Linked DNA regions of Homo sapiens: all the other regions are linked to region 1. The links are contacts of gene promoters, found by promoter capture Hi-C in blood cells and fetal thymus (Javierre and others, 2016). All regions are on one chromosome and are shown on one strand. Each heading gives the region's core, a stretch centred on a gene start or on the middle of the fragment in contact. The rest is flanking DNA. Distances are from core to core; before and after follow the strand shown. Region 1 holds the start of SLC4A5 (solute carrier family 4 member 5). Region 2 overlaps STAMBP (STAM binding protein). Region 3 overlaps STAMBP (STAM binding protein). Region 4 holds the start of DGUOK-AS1 (DGUOK antisense RNA 1).

Region 1 (3,202 bases), core at 247-2,746:
CAAGGCCATTTTCTCCACAAAGCTTTTCTTTAACACATGGGGCTGGTAGGTAAGCCATGAACATTTGTGGAACAAGGTAATCCTCCAAACAAGGGTGATTTTTCTTTCACTGAACCCTTCCCTCCCTTTGTGCTTCTTTTTGGAGCCTCACACTCTTCTGAATTTGTTGAATCCCCAACCAGCTGGAAATTCCCTAAGGCCCGAAACTGTTTCTGGCCTAGGCTGTGCTGATCTTCCTGGGACTAAGGGGTTTCCTGGGTCACAGATCTTCTGTGCTAAAACCAGGAAAGCCTCTGGTGACCCAGCATGTGTTGATCTCCCTAGTCTTGCCTGTCTTTGATTCCATGGATTATTAACAGAAACTATAATGTTGGGTTAATGTGTTGGCTTGGGCATGGCCTCCGAAACATGTTTTTTACATGTCTGCCACCAGCAGGCTCTAGATCCAGGAATGAGGCTTTTCCACTAAGGGAAAACTCCACGTGATCTAGGAAGAAAGTGAGGATATCCAACCAGATGATAAATTTCCTATCTGAAAGAGAAGGTCAACCCTGAAATAAGGAGGCTGAAGACCCTTAGAGAAGCCACAGAAGAGACTGGAAGAAGAGGGGTAGAGTTGCTTTTTTAATGGGGCTTCCAGCTCCTACTTTTCTTCCTGTCTGTAAGTCTCTGAGCTTCTGTTCCAGCTCTGTAAGGTTGGGGACGAGAATGCTCTCCCCACTGGACTGTTGAGAGTTCAATGAGGGGAAATGTGTGCATATACCAGGCCCCATGCTGGGTGCCCAGAGACGCTGCGCCTTCCTGGCATGCTTCTCTTCCCCATCGCTCAGCACCGCGTCCCTCACTCCCTCCACTCCCGATTCTCACTTCCTACTCACTGGCTTCTTCCTTCCCATCTTCCTCCAAACTTCCCATTTTCCACTATGTCTCTCTCACCGTATCTTTTTCACTTAAACAAAAATGGAATTCATAAAAACAGAGGCCAAAAGTCAGGATAAACCTGGAAAAATCACCAAGTACGCAAAGTTTTTCTTGCAAGGTTTGGTTTTTTCAAATGCCTTCTTTGTTTTCCTTGCCCATATCCTTCTTCGGAGAGTCAGGATTTGGGGTTTGCAGAGCTGTGTGGCAGTGGAATGTGGAATGTTCTCCTGAATCTCAGTCCCATGAAGAAAAGAGGCAAAAGTCCTGACATCTTTCCTGAGGATTGTCTGATTTAAAAGAGCTGATTCTCCCCAGGCAAATGACTTACCTTTGTTGTGCTGGGACAAGCTGAACAGGCAAGGAATAAACCTCCCTAGAACACACTGATTAGATTAGCCAGTGAGAACCACTGAAGACGCAGACATTAGATTAAAAAACAGAAAAATGAATGTTACTTTTACAGTGGCTATGAATAGACAAAGACTTTTTGGTTTGAAAATAGTTGGTGAGGCAATAGAGGAGGGGCTATGTTAATAGCAGAGATAGAAAAAACGAGAGGTGGATGGTTCCAACTGCAAGGTCCACCCTAAAGGAATTGGAGTCAGGGCCCAGGAGCCACAGGCCACTGCACTGGGGTAAGTAGAGTGGATTTTACATAAATAAAGTTACAGAGTGGTTGTAGGTTCTGGTTTGGAGATGTGAGTGAACCAACTGAATAGAATAGGCAGATTCCCCAGCCCACCAAGAGTCAGATGAGAATTTTATTGCTTTTTGCTAAAGGCCTGTACAAGACTTAGAGCAAAGATAAGGAGTAACCTGATTGTTGAAACTAATCTATAAGTATTCCAACATAGCAAAGGACAAGTAACGGAATGACGAGGTTTTCCTGTAGTAGTGTTGCGATTTTGTTCTGCTGTGTCCCCCTACTCCAGTTTCCTCTGTGAGGGGAGCGTGTAGTGTGTGCATATCTGTGGAATGTCAGACTTCTAAAGTCAGGGGCTGAGACCTATATCTAGTTAGACCTCTGTGCATATTCTTGAGCCATGGGAGTCTCAGTGGTTGATAGTACTTCACACTTCTTCCAGTTCAATAAGGGTTACCTATGGTGTCTCCTCTGAGTCTCCTAGGAGTCCAGAAAACATGAGACTTGTATAAGAATCCACACTTCAACTAAGCTTTCTGGCCCAAAGAAGGCATTGTTACCAAGGATCTGTTTCTTGAGGTCTTTAGGGAGTGAGAGGGAAGGAACGCATGAGGAACCAGAGCTAGTCCCCATCTCTCTCCCTAGAAGTGACAGACTGCATAGCTCTTATGTATCAGGAGTCCTGGAGATCAGCTGGCTTTCCTTAAAAAAGGGTCATCCAGCCGTGATGAAATCCTGACTTAGAAACCCAGTGCCCTTAGCTTTGTGGGCTTCTGTCCCTGAGAAATGGTGTTTTACCCTCCCTCCAAGCAGGCATCCCAGGATTTGGAATTCAGCTGTGAGCTCATGAGCTGATGGATGTTTCCAGGAGTACCCTGAAGACCACCCAGGTATGCTCTCCCCACCTCCTTTATTTTGGATGGACCAGTCTAAGGAGAGTCATCTTTTCCCACACCATTGGTGGCACTCAGTGAGTGGCTTGTTGCTTGACTGAATGCCTGCCCACACCCTCTCCAGTCAAGTTTATCTTGAGTAACTAAACACTTAGCAATGGAGACACTCATACATCTCCACTGCACTAGAAGTAGGGATGGTGGCCATGCCAACAAAGGAGATAACTTTAGCACAAAGGATGTCACAAGAAACAGATAGTAGAGTGTGTTCTCCAGTGTTATCATTTCCCAAACCAGAATCAACTGGTCTTGGGTTTCCTTCCCTCATCCTTCATCTGTAGAAAACTTTGTTTCTTGAGCTACTTCAGATCTACTTCCCTATCTTAAGAGGTGGGCTATGTGCTTCTTCTGCTAATTTATTATCTCAGAAGTACATAATTTGAGCAATTTTATATAGTTTTGAGGACAGGAGCCCTGTAAGAGTCTCTTACTCAGAAATGGATTCAGCTTGGTTTGAGGTTTAATAGGTCATTGCAATGCTCCCTTCTGGTATCACAGGACATAAGCTGGGTTGGGCGGAGTCCCCCTTTTGTGTCTTAGCCTTCCTCTCCTTACTCCAGAGTAAGAGCAGCCCTGATGGAAAAACAAAATTACCATCCATGCCTACTTCATTTCTGCCCCTCTTACTCTAAGTCTGGGCAATCCGCAACATCTTTTTATATTGGACTTCCTAGATCACAGACTC
Region 2 (3,316 bases), core at 795-3,294, 480 kb after region 1:
TCAACTGGGGTAACTAAAACCCCAAAGAAGCCATCAACAGTCAAAAGGGATAGGCACTTACAATTTTAAATTCTGTGGTACCAAATGAAAGCTGAAATCCTTGCCTCTCAAGCAAGAAAATCCACCATGACACTGGCCCAAGGGAATGTTTCTCTCATGCTGCCTTTTATGGTATCTGGTACCCAAGACAATATTACAAAAGCTTAAGGGTTTCTTCTTCTTCCCCTTTGGTCCCATTTAACAAGGAGTATGTGAAAGTGATCATCTGAAAAAACCCAGCTCTGCTCTGACCCCAAGCAAATCAGCTCCTCTGATTCTCTCTGCACCTGGCCTATGGCACTTTGGTAGGTTTGTGCCTCCCAGGGCAACTGGGACATTGTTTGGCAACCTGACGATGCTTTTGTCTCCCCTCTCAGCCCAGAACACTAAGTATGGTACTTGTGCAGCTTGCAAGAGTGGAAAAGTCTCCTGGTCTTTGAGCCTCGGGAACCCAGGAGTCAGTCCCTTTAGCCAAATAGTCATTACCCTTTCAATACAATGTCTTTCCTCAGGTTGCGTGGTCTTTGTCCCTTTTACCCACAGTATTCCTTTCCTCTTTTCCCGACCGCTCTGGCTACTCCTCTTTCTCTCCGGCCTATCCAGTCTCAGGGCTTGTGGGCTGGCTTGATTCCACGTCTCCTCCACAGAGGTAAGATGAAGACAGAGACACTTAGACCATCCTATGCAGAGTGCCTCTGCAGTGGCTAGGCTGCAGCAGATATGAAGAGGGATCTACAGACTGATTTCCTGCACCCATCTAGCCACTAAGATATCTTGTGCCTAGAGGAAGAGAAAAGAAAATATAGCAGTTTGGTGATCAGTCTGTGATCAATGTGGTTGCAACGTATGATATGTTGTTGACCTGGCTGAATGTCTTTGGTGGGCAGAGACGGATAAGAGAGCTCACAATTCTTAGGTATCAAAGACCAATGCAGTGGTTGTCAACCCTGGTTGTACTTGAGAATTCTAGCAGCTTGAAAGACAAATGCAGAAACAACATCTGAGGCTCCACCCTAGAGATTCAGCTTTAATTGGTGGGGGGTAGAACACAGGCATCAGTATTTTTTAAATTGCTCCCTAGATATTTGAATATATAGCCAGGGGTAAGAACTTTAAGTGGAAAGTTCTGACTAAAAGCTAAATTTAGATTTTCAGCAATGGGAAGCTATTGCAGGTTTTTGAGCAAGAGAGAAAACATGAACATGGCTGGAATGTGAGAAGCTTCTCCTGATCAAAGTGTGCAGAACAGACTGGAATGAAGAAATGCTAAAAACAAAGAGACTTGGTAAAAGCCAACGGCTACAGTCGAAATAAAAGGTAAGAAAGCCCTAAGCTAAGTGGTAGACAAAGAATGGGAAGAAGGGGATGGATTTCCCAAAAGCAGAGGACTGGGCAATTTCAGGACTGTTTAGAGCAAGGTGGAACAGCCAGGCTGCTCTGGGCTGCAGCAGGAAATGGCTTGTCCAAGCCCAGCTGGCCCCCAGACCCACCCATACCAAAACAGCAAAGAAGGAATTTCCACTATATGGGGAATTAAGAACCCAAGAGAAGAAAAAGAATATAGAGAACTGGGCTCTTTCAGGGGACAAGTTCAAGGACCACTAACCTAAGCAATAAAGACTGAGACAAAATTTAAAAATGAAGAAAACTTTATGCATTCACAGATTCTCCCTCCCCCACCTAGAATTCTGATAAAGAATAAATCACTCTTCTCCTAGCCAAAGTATTTACTCTCCTGCCCTCACTCGAGGTGTCACAAATGACACCATTATTTCTAGGCCACCTAGAACACCAGGCTCAGCTCACAGAAAATTGCAGTAACAATTGCTGCTTCAAGCGTTTTCCTAGGTATTGCCTTAGTCAGAAAAGAACAGCCAACACAATGAAATTGGTAGGGTGGGGTGGCTGGGAAATGTAATCATTTATTGGAGTGTAACCTGGTACTCCAAACAAAGGCTTCATTATCCTCAGCCAAAAGCATGGAGGGCATAAGGAGGAAGTGAATGGTTGACCCATTTGAGACAGCACCAAAAGAACAGAGATGACTTCACAACACCTCTGGAAGATGGCAACAGGCAGATAAAAAACAAGGAGTAATTAAAAGTGAACTGGGACACACCATCAGTGTCAGTATATCTCAAATTCCATTTTTCCTTCACCTTTCCAAAACAACCATACCTTTTTTTTAACCTGTTTATACAATGCTTGATCAAATGGATCACTCTGAAGCACAAAAACATAAGTTAATTGTTACTTTATTGTAGAGGAAAAATATCCTGAAATATTTATTAAATAACAATAATTCCTGACAAAATCATTCTTCGGGATGTGTTAGCCAAACAATCTGGTCAAATGGAGTAAGCTGTCCCTCACCCCAGTAATAAGCTCCATTCATATTGCCATAAACCACAGGAAAATCCAAAAGATTTTCTAAATGGCTTCCAAATTTCTGCACAGATGCCCTTATTGAGCCCAGAGGTAAATATAAACAAATTGAAATTAGAGAGAAATTAGAAGGATAGCTGAGAGGAAAAAAATGTTAACAATTGGTGAATCCAGAAGGAAGGGTATATGGGGGTTCATTATACCATTCTTTCTTAATTTCTGAGCTACTTAATTTCTGAGTAACTTAATTTCTGAGTTACAGTTGCTTTTGGGTGACCATGTTCTCTTTCTGACTTGCCTAAAAAATATGTTCAGTTATTTCTTTTCAAACCTGAAATACAAAATCAGCTCTTTCTCAGGTGATGCCCCCCTTTCTACTATCTACAAAAACTTCCAAAGCTTTCTAGAAAGCTTAAATTAAGGGGCTACAGTACACTGATATGGTTTTGTTGTTCTTGGAAGGTGTTGGACTCAAACGCTCATCGAAGGTCTGTGATGGTCACTGCTCTGTCCACAACAGTCACGTGGCTGCAGCTCTGCAATAGGAAAAAAGAAAGGTGGAGTCCTAGAAAATTCTGAAAAGTCTTTTTTTTTTTTTTCTTCATATAGGGTCTTGCTCTGTTGCCCAGGCTGGAGTGCAGTGGCACGATCTCGGCTCACTGCAACCCCCGCCTCCTGGGTTCAAGCGATTCTTCTGCCTTAGCTTTCCCAGTAGCTGGGATTACAGGCACGAGCCACCATGCCTGGCTAATTTTGTGTTTTTAGTAGAGGTGGGGTTTCGCCATGTTGGTCAGCCTGGACTTGAACTCCTGACCTCAAGTAATCTGCCTGCCTCAGTCTCCCAAAGTATTGGGATTATAGGCGTGAGCCACCGTGCCCGGCCTGAAAAGTC
Region 3 (3,406 bases), core at 845-3,344, 500 kb after region 1:
CTACCTTAAGAAAAGTTTTCTTAAAAATAACCTTAAGAATGTAATTGGATTGTTTGTAACTCAAAGGATAAATACTTGAGGGGATGGATACCCTATTCTCCATGATGTGCTTATTTCATATTGCATGCCTGTATCAAAACATCTCATGTACCCCATAAATACATACACCTACTATGTACCCACAAAAACTTAAAAAATAAAAGTAAAAAATAAAATTTAGGGGGGAAAAAGACACAAGTTCTTGAAACATTTGGGAATTTTCTGTCAGAATCTAATACAAAGAATTAAAAAAATAACCTCCCTGCTGTGGTTTGACTGTGTCTCCCAAAGTTCATGTTTTGGAAACTTAATTCCTAATGCAAAATTATTGAGAGGTAGGATCTTTAAGAGGTGATGAGGCTATGAGGGATCTTTGTTTGCCCTTCCACCCTTCTGTCGTGGGATGACGCAGCAAGAAGGCCTTTGCCAGGCCCCTGGGTCTTGGACTTTCCACTCTCCAGAACTATGAACCAAATAAATTTATGTTCATTATAAATTATCCAGCCTCAGGTATTCTGTTATAGCAGCACAAAATGGACTAAGACACTGCCCATTCATCTGAACTTTTAATTTTAAATCTCTTTTATCTCAGATAAGAATATCAGAGTATGACTTTAAAAGAAATACACTGGTGTATATTCTTGAGAATGGAAAACAATCTGGGCAGTTATTTACTTCTGAACTTACTCTTCTGGAAGAAGTTAAATGCCAAACCACAACAAAATAAAAAATACAGTGTAGTCCCCCAAAAAAGGCATGAACAAAGCAGCTCATAAAAAATGCCAAGAATGGACCCAGTTTCTGAACACCATGGAGAAACTCTGTGAGACAGCCAGCAAGCTAAAGTTAGGAAGTGTCTCTCACAGCTATATTTTCATATTTAAAAAAAAAAAGTGGGAGGGGAAAGATGTTCTGCTTTTGCGTATTCAACAGCAAGATCTGAATTGCTAGAGAGGTAACAAAGTCAGAGCAGGGGACACAGAGTCACACAGCAGTCTGATGATGTTATCTGAGGATTATGAATTCGGTTTGGCACATTCTTTTCCTTTCACTAAAAAGTTGACAGTCTGACTTTCAAGAATAATATTAGCTCTTCAGAAAATCGACCAGACTAGGTTTCAGCAAAGGCCACTTTTATAACATAGCCAGTGTATTAGGACACAGTACAGCAATACTTATCAGATGGGTTTCTGTGACCAAAGCTTAATGAGTGGGATCAGGGAGGTAATCTTAGGTTGACCCCGTCAGAATGATACTGTTTGGCTGCAACTGAGAAGGAAGAGGACATCAGCAAATGCACTTACTACTTTCTGAGTTGCTCAGTGCTCCAGGTTTCAAGGACCTGTCCACCACAGGTGGCTTAGCTGGCCTTACAGTTGTGTGACAGTCTGAAGGCTGTATGGATGAGACTGTTAAGGTGGGGAACACATCTAAGGAGGGCTTCTCCAAGTCAGGCACTAGCGGGCCACCTAGGCCAGGGTCTACCTTCCCAAACTCCTGTACAATTTTCAGTCGCTCTTTTTCTAGCTCCTGGTTCCGGATCATCTCCTCGAAGGCATGGAACTGTTCCTGTTCCAATTGCTGCTGCTTCTGTTGTGCTACCCTCTGTTTTTCCTTTTCCAGCTCTTGCTGGATGGCCATGTTCCGGGCCAATTCCTCTGCTTCCTTCTTCTACAAAGAGAGAAAATTTAGGCTAACACTTCACACCTCAGTGACTTCACACTTCAGGAGAACAAGGCTTTTTAGCATGGAGATTTCCAAAATGTACTTCTGCTGTGGCCTGATTACCTAACACAGAATTCATGCTTTCCTCAGTATCTTTATACCCACGGAGTGTAGTCACCACCCCTTTCTATCTGGCCACAGTATACCTATCTCCAAGGACAATTAAAATCCCAATCCTCTCAATACCCTCCCGACAATGACTCTACCTAATGCACTTTCCTCTTCACTGAAATCTTTTTTTTTTTTTTTTTGAGACAGGGTCTCATTCTGTTTCCCAGGCTGAAGTGCAATGGCATGATCACAGCTCACTGCAGCCTTGACCTCCCAGGCTCAAGCAATCCTCCCACCTTAGCCTCCTGAGTAGGTGGGACCACAGGTGTGCACCACCACACCTGGCTAATTTTTGTATTTTTTGTAGAGACAGGGTTTCGCCATGTTGCCCAGGCTAGTCTTGAACTCCTGGGCTCAAACAATCTGCCCACCTCGGCCTCCCGAAGCGCTGGGATTCCAGGTGTGAGCCACAATGTCTGGCCTGAAATCTTGATGCAACTTACTATCTGTGTTCTCCTAACCTGTATCACAGACAGTTTTATTCTTCTCTCTGTGTCATGTACATATTCTATATTTCAAGTAAGGCTATAAAATAGAACCAGATCCAAACTTATACCTGCTATCTTGGGGGTCTCTACTGAATTTTTTTTTTTTTTCTTAGAGAGTCTCACTCTGTCACCTAGGCTGGACTGTAGTGGTCAATCATGGCTCACTGCAGCCTCAATCTCCCTGGGCGCAGGTGATCCTCCCATCTCAGCCTCCCGAGTAGCTGAAACCAGAGGTGCGTGCCACCACACTAATTTTTGTATTTTTTGTAGAGACCCAGCTAATTTTTGTATTTTTTGTAGAGATGGGGTTTCACCATGTTGCCCAGGCTGGTCTCGAACTCCTGGGCTCAAGCGATCACCCACTTCAGGCTCCCAAAGTGCTAGGATTACAGGCATGAGCCACCACGTCTTGCCTTCTACTGAATTTTAACCCAAAATGAGGCCTCTGAAATTTTTATGGTTTTTGTGCATTTGTTCAACACAGAGTGACATTTTAAGCTAATAAGAAATACTTGAGAGGCATTTGGATTAAAAAAAAAAAGAAAGAAAGAAATGCTAAGTAATAACCTCCTCCTTAAAGCTTACACTCACTTGGTGCTTTAGAAGTATATACCTCATAGCTGTTCATCCCTCTGCTGATTTTCAACATCAGAGTCCAGAATAGAGACCAGCAGACAGCTACACAACAGCCTGTGAGTGGCTGCAGTATGTATTCACAGCTGGCCACTGACAGCGCCCTGGCAGTTTCTCCACATGTTTTAACTGACTTCCTAAAAAGAATCATTTGAAAATAGCTTGAAATGGCTGGGTGCAGCGGCTCACGCCTGTAATCCCAGCACTTTGGAAGGCCGAGGCAGGCGGATCACTTGAGGTCAGGAGTTTGAGACCATCTTGGCCAACATGGTGAAACCCCATCTCTACTAAAAATACAAAAATTAGCCGGGTATGGTGGCGGATGCCTGTAGTCCCAGTCACTCGGGAGGCTGAGGTAGGAGAATCACTTGAGTCGGGGAGGCAGAGGTTGCAGTGAGCTGAGATCGTGC
Region 4 (2,945 bases), core at 356-2,855, 360 kb after region 1:
ACCTTGGACTAGGTACTCCATCTTCAAGGGAATCCAAGTAAAAGACTTAATATAGGGCTCAATGAATGACAACAACTAATATTGTTTAATCCATATGACAACCTTGTGAGGTAGGTACTATCATCAAACCCATTTTATGGATAAGAAAACAGATTAAATAACTTGCCCAGGATCACTCAGCTAGTAAGTTGTGGACTTTCAGAGGAGCCCAGCAGCCATCCTCTTGTATTCTGTCTGGGTAAATGGCACCAGCAAGTTACTGTGTCATTTACTCTTTGCCAGCAATCTATGAGAGGGTCATTTCATAAAGCCCTCTCGTTTAGGTAACTGGGTGAATGCTGGTGCCATTCACTGTGACAAAATGCAGAAGGAAGGATGCCTGGGGATGGAGACATTCGTGTGAAAGTGAGTGTGCAACTGAGGGGGTGAGGCCTGGGTTTGAGATTTGGGCCCCATCAGTGAGCAGACAGCGAGGCCTCAGTTGTGGAGGAGCTCATCCAGGGTGGATATGGAGTGTGAGAGGGAAAGGCTGCCAGGACAGAGCCCCAGGGAATACCAGCCCATGAGGGACAGGAGCTGAGAAGGCGCCGCCAGAGAGGTTGGAGGGAACCCAGCCAGGCTAGAGAGCTGCCTGTCATATCTTCCCGGCCTCTGGAACCTTACACTTCGGCAGTCCTGTTGCTCATTCCTTCTGCCTGGGGAAAAACCCTTCCCACCCCACCCCTTCTCAGCTACCCCTTGTACCTGCCAAATTCCCACTCATCCTGCAAGTCATAAGTGCCAGTTCCATGAAACCTCCAGCTGCTCAGATGATTCCAGAGCCCCACCCACTCTCCCTCCACAGAAGTTTGACTCTCCCTGCCTAGGAACAGTTATCTCATCGGCGCTGGGCACTGGAATGGTTTGCATGTTTCTTTCCCAGTTACTACAAACTCCTGGAAGGGTAGCACGCTGTCTTTCACCTCATAACCCTAGACCTAGCAACCAACCACTGTGTTGAATGAAGAGACGAGGTGAGTAGACCCTAATGAATGACAGACCCCAGTAACACTGAAGACCCATAGGCTTCTTTCCTGCTTTCTTTACGACTTGCACAAACTGGTCAGGGGCGCCCAAGATAAAACAGCCTAAACTCCTCAGGTCCTGCCTTCTGGTTCTCCAGCCTCCTGGGCTGCTGCGGCTATTCCCATTCACATTGCGCTCAGGGCAGGAGAGCAGCGGGGGTGGGCGTAGGGATAGGGCGAGCCCTTCCTGGGGCTGCATTAGCCTAGACGCAGTGGTTCCGCCAAGAGAGCCCCGGCACCAGCAGCATCACCATCTCCTGGGAACTGGCTAGAAATGCAAGCTCTCGGCCCCATCCTAACCCCACTGAATCAGAAACCCTGGGGGCGGGCCCAGCAATCTGTTTTAATTAGTCCGTCAGGTGAAGTCAAGTTAGAGCAGCACTGGACTACAGCAAGCGGGGGAGAAGGAAGTTCAGCACCCAGGTGGAGACTGCGATTAGGCCCCCAAGGCGCTTAGAGCAGACAGAGGGAGAGAGGCTCCTTTTAGGAGCGGGTTTGGCGGGCGCCACCCCAAGCGGCCAAGGGCGGAGCCTCTTTTAGGCGACTGCTCCCGCGAGGTCAGAGCCGGGCTGTGCCGCTGCCCCCGGGACTAGAAAGGGAAATCTCCTTGCTAGAGGAGGAAGCCCTAAGAACTCAAGGGAGATAGGGGTGGCAGGGGCATTTCCCTGGATGCCTGGAGCATGGAGGGTGCGAAATAAGGAGGCTTTCCTACCCCATTGATGAGCTGAAGTTGATTCCGCACGGGGGAGGAAAGGGACAGGAAGCATAATTGGATGTGCAAGCCTGTGGTTCTTCAGGAAGTTAACACGTGGAACTAACACTGTTGGATGCTGCTGAACTCTCAGGTGATTGATGTGACTAACCTCCTCAGGTACTTGACCTCTCTCCTCTTCAGCTAATGAGTAATTTGTCCTTATTTAAGAATGAGATTTGCGTATGGGGACCTTTTGCAGAAATGTAAATACATCCCGATATCCATACCTGGGCTTGGTTTTAAAGACTGAAGGTATTGGGAGGTTTATTTGATTTTGGATGTATTACTTCTTTGGTCATGTATTGGCTAAAAATATTATCAACTAATATTTGCATAGATCTTTCCCTTTTCAAAGCACTTCCACACACATTATCCTTCTGTCTGCACAGAGTGGCAAATACAACAAATGTGCAAATGTTAACTTTCCTTATCTATGACATAGTTTTTATTATCATCACCATTTTACAGATAAGAGAACTGGCGCTCAGTGAGGTAATTTGTCCAAGGTCATTCACTACTACATGTCAGAATCCAGGACCTACAATCCAGGACCTCTGAAATTAGCCCACGAATGCTAGAGCTGATACCAGGCAGAAGCTGGCATTTTGCTCTCAGGGAAAGGGAGGTTCATTAGTGGGTTGCTTGTGGACCTGCATTGGTGAGTGTGACACGTGTAGGATATCTATGCTATGCGTTTTTGGGTTTTTTGTTTTGTTTTGGTTTTGGGTTTTGGTTTTTTTTTTTTCTTTGAGATGGAGTCTCACTCTTGTCACCCAGGCTGAAGTGCAGTGGCGCGATCTGGGCTCACTGTAACCTCTGCTGCCCAGGTTCAAATGATTCTCCTGCCTCAGACTCTCGAGTAGCTGGGATTACAGGCACCTGCCACCGCGCCCAGCTAATTTTTGTAGTTTTAGTAGAGACTGGTCTTGAACTCCTGACCTCATGATCCACCCACCTCGACCTCCCAAACTGCTGGGATTACATGAGTGAGCCACCGCGCCCGGCTACTACGTTTTTCAATAGCCCCGCAAATGTCCTCATGTTTTATAACTAGTTTTGTGACTGCATTTTGAATTTTTTGAATCAAATAGGCTTCATTACTTGCAAGGAGAATGCAAGGGTACCCA

What was found. The method cuts DNA at HindIII sites, captures the fragments that hold promoters and counts their contacts. A CHiCAGO score of 5 or more calls a contact.
Region 2: a fragment that was not itself captured here is called in contact with the fragment with the promoter of SLC4A5 in region 1 in 11 of 17 cell types (naive B cells, total B cells, naive CD4 T cells and 8 more); the score reaches 10.7 in naive B cells.
Region 3: a fragment that was not itself captured here is called in contact with the fragment with the promoter of SLC4A5 in region 1 in 12 of 17 cell types (naive B cells, total CD4 T cells, total CD8 T cells and 9 more); the score reaches 12.8 in naive B cells.
Region 4: a contact is called between the fragment with the promoter of DGUOK-AS1 here and the fragment with the promoter of SLC4A5 in region 1, in 1 of 17 cell types (activated CD4 T cells). The highest score is 5.4, in activated CD4 T cells.

What each region holds. Positions count from the first base shown.
Region 1 is chr2:74,341,710-74,344,911 of GRCh38, reverse strand. It overlaps SLC4A5 (solute carrier family 4 member 5), which reads left to right and starts at 1,496. Exons shown (of 31, transcript NM_133478.3): 1 at 1,496-1,556; 2 at 2,378-2,454. The HindIII fragment of the contact is 2,074 bases long and covers 25-2,098 here.
Region 2 is chr2:73,861,847-73,865,162 of GRCh38, reverse strand. STAMBP (STAM binding protein) reads right to left here. Exons shown (of 10, transcript NM_213622.4): 10 at 1-2,960. The coding sequence ends at 2,904. Among named protein-coding and RNA genes, the nearest start is that of ACTG2, 30 kb to the left of the region's middle. The HindIII fragment of the contact is 1,563 bases long and covers 1,263-2,825 here.
Region 3 is chr2:73,845,691-73,849,096 of GRCh38, reverse strand. It overlaps STAMBP (STAM binding protein), which reads right to left. Exons shown (of 10, transcript NM_213622.4): 5 at 1,344-1,710. The region is part of intron 1 of LOC112268419 (a long non-coding RNA gene); the gene reads left to right. Among named protein-coding and RNA genes, the nearest start is that of STAMBP, 18 kb to the right of the region's middle. The HindIII fragment of the contact is 1,702 bases long and covers 1,244-2,945 here.
Region 4 is chr2:73,980,099-73,983,043 of GRCh38, reverse strand. It overlaps DGUOK-AS1 (DGUOK antisense RNA 1), which reads left to right and starts at 1,605. Exons shown (of 2, transcript NR_104030.1): 1 at 1,605-1,909. The HindIII fragment of the contact is 8,489 bases long and covers 1-2,945 here.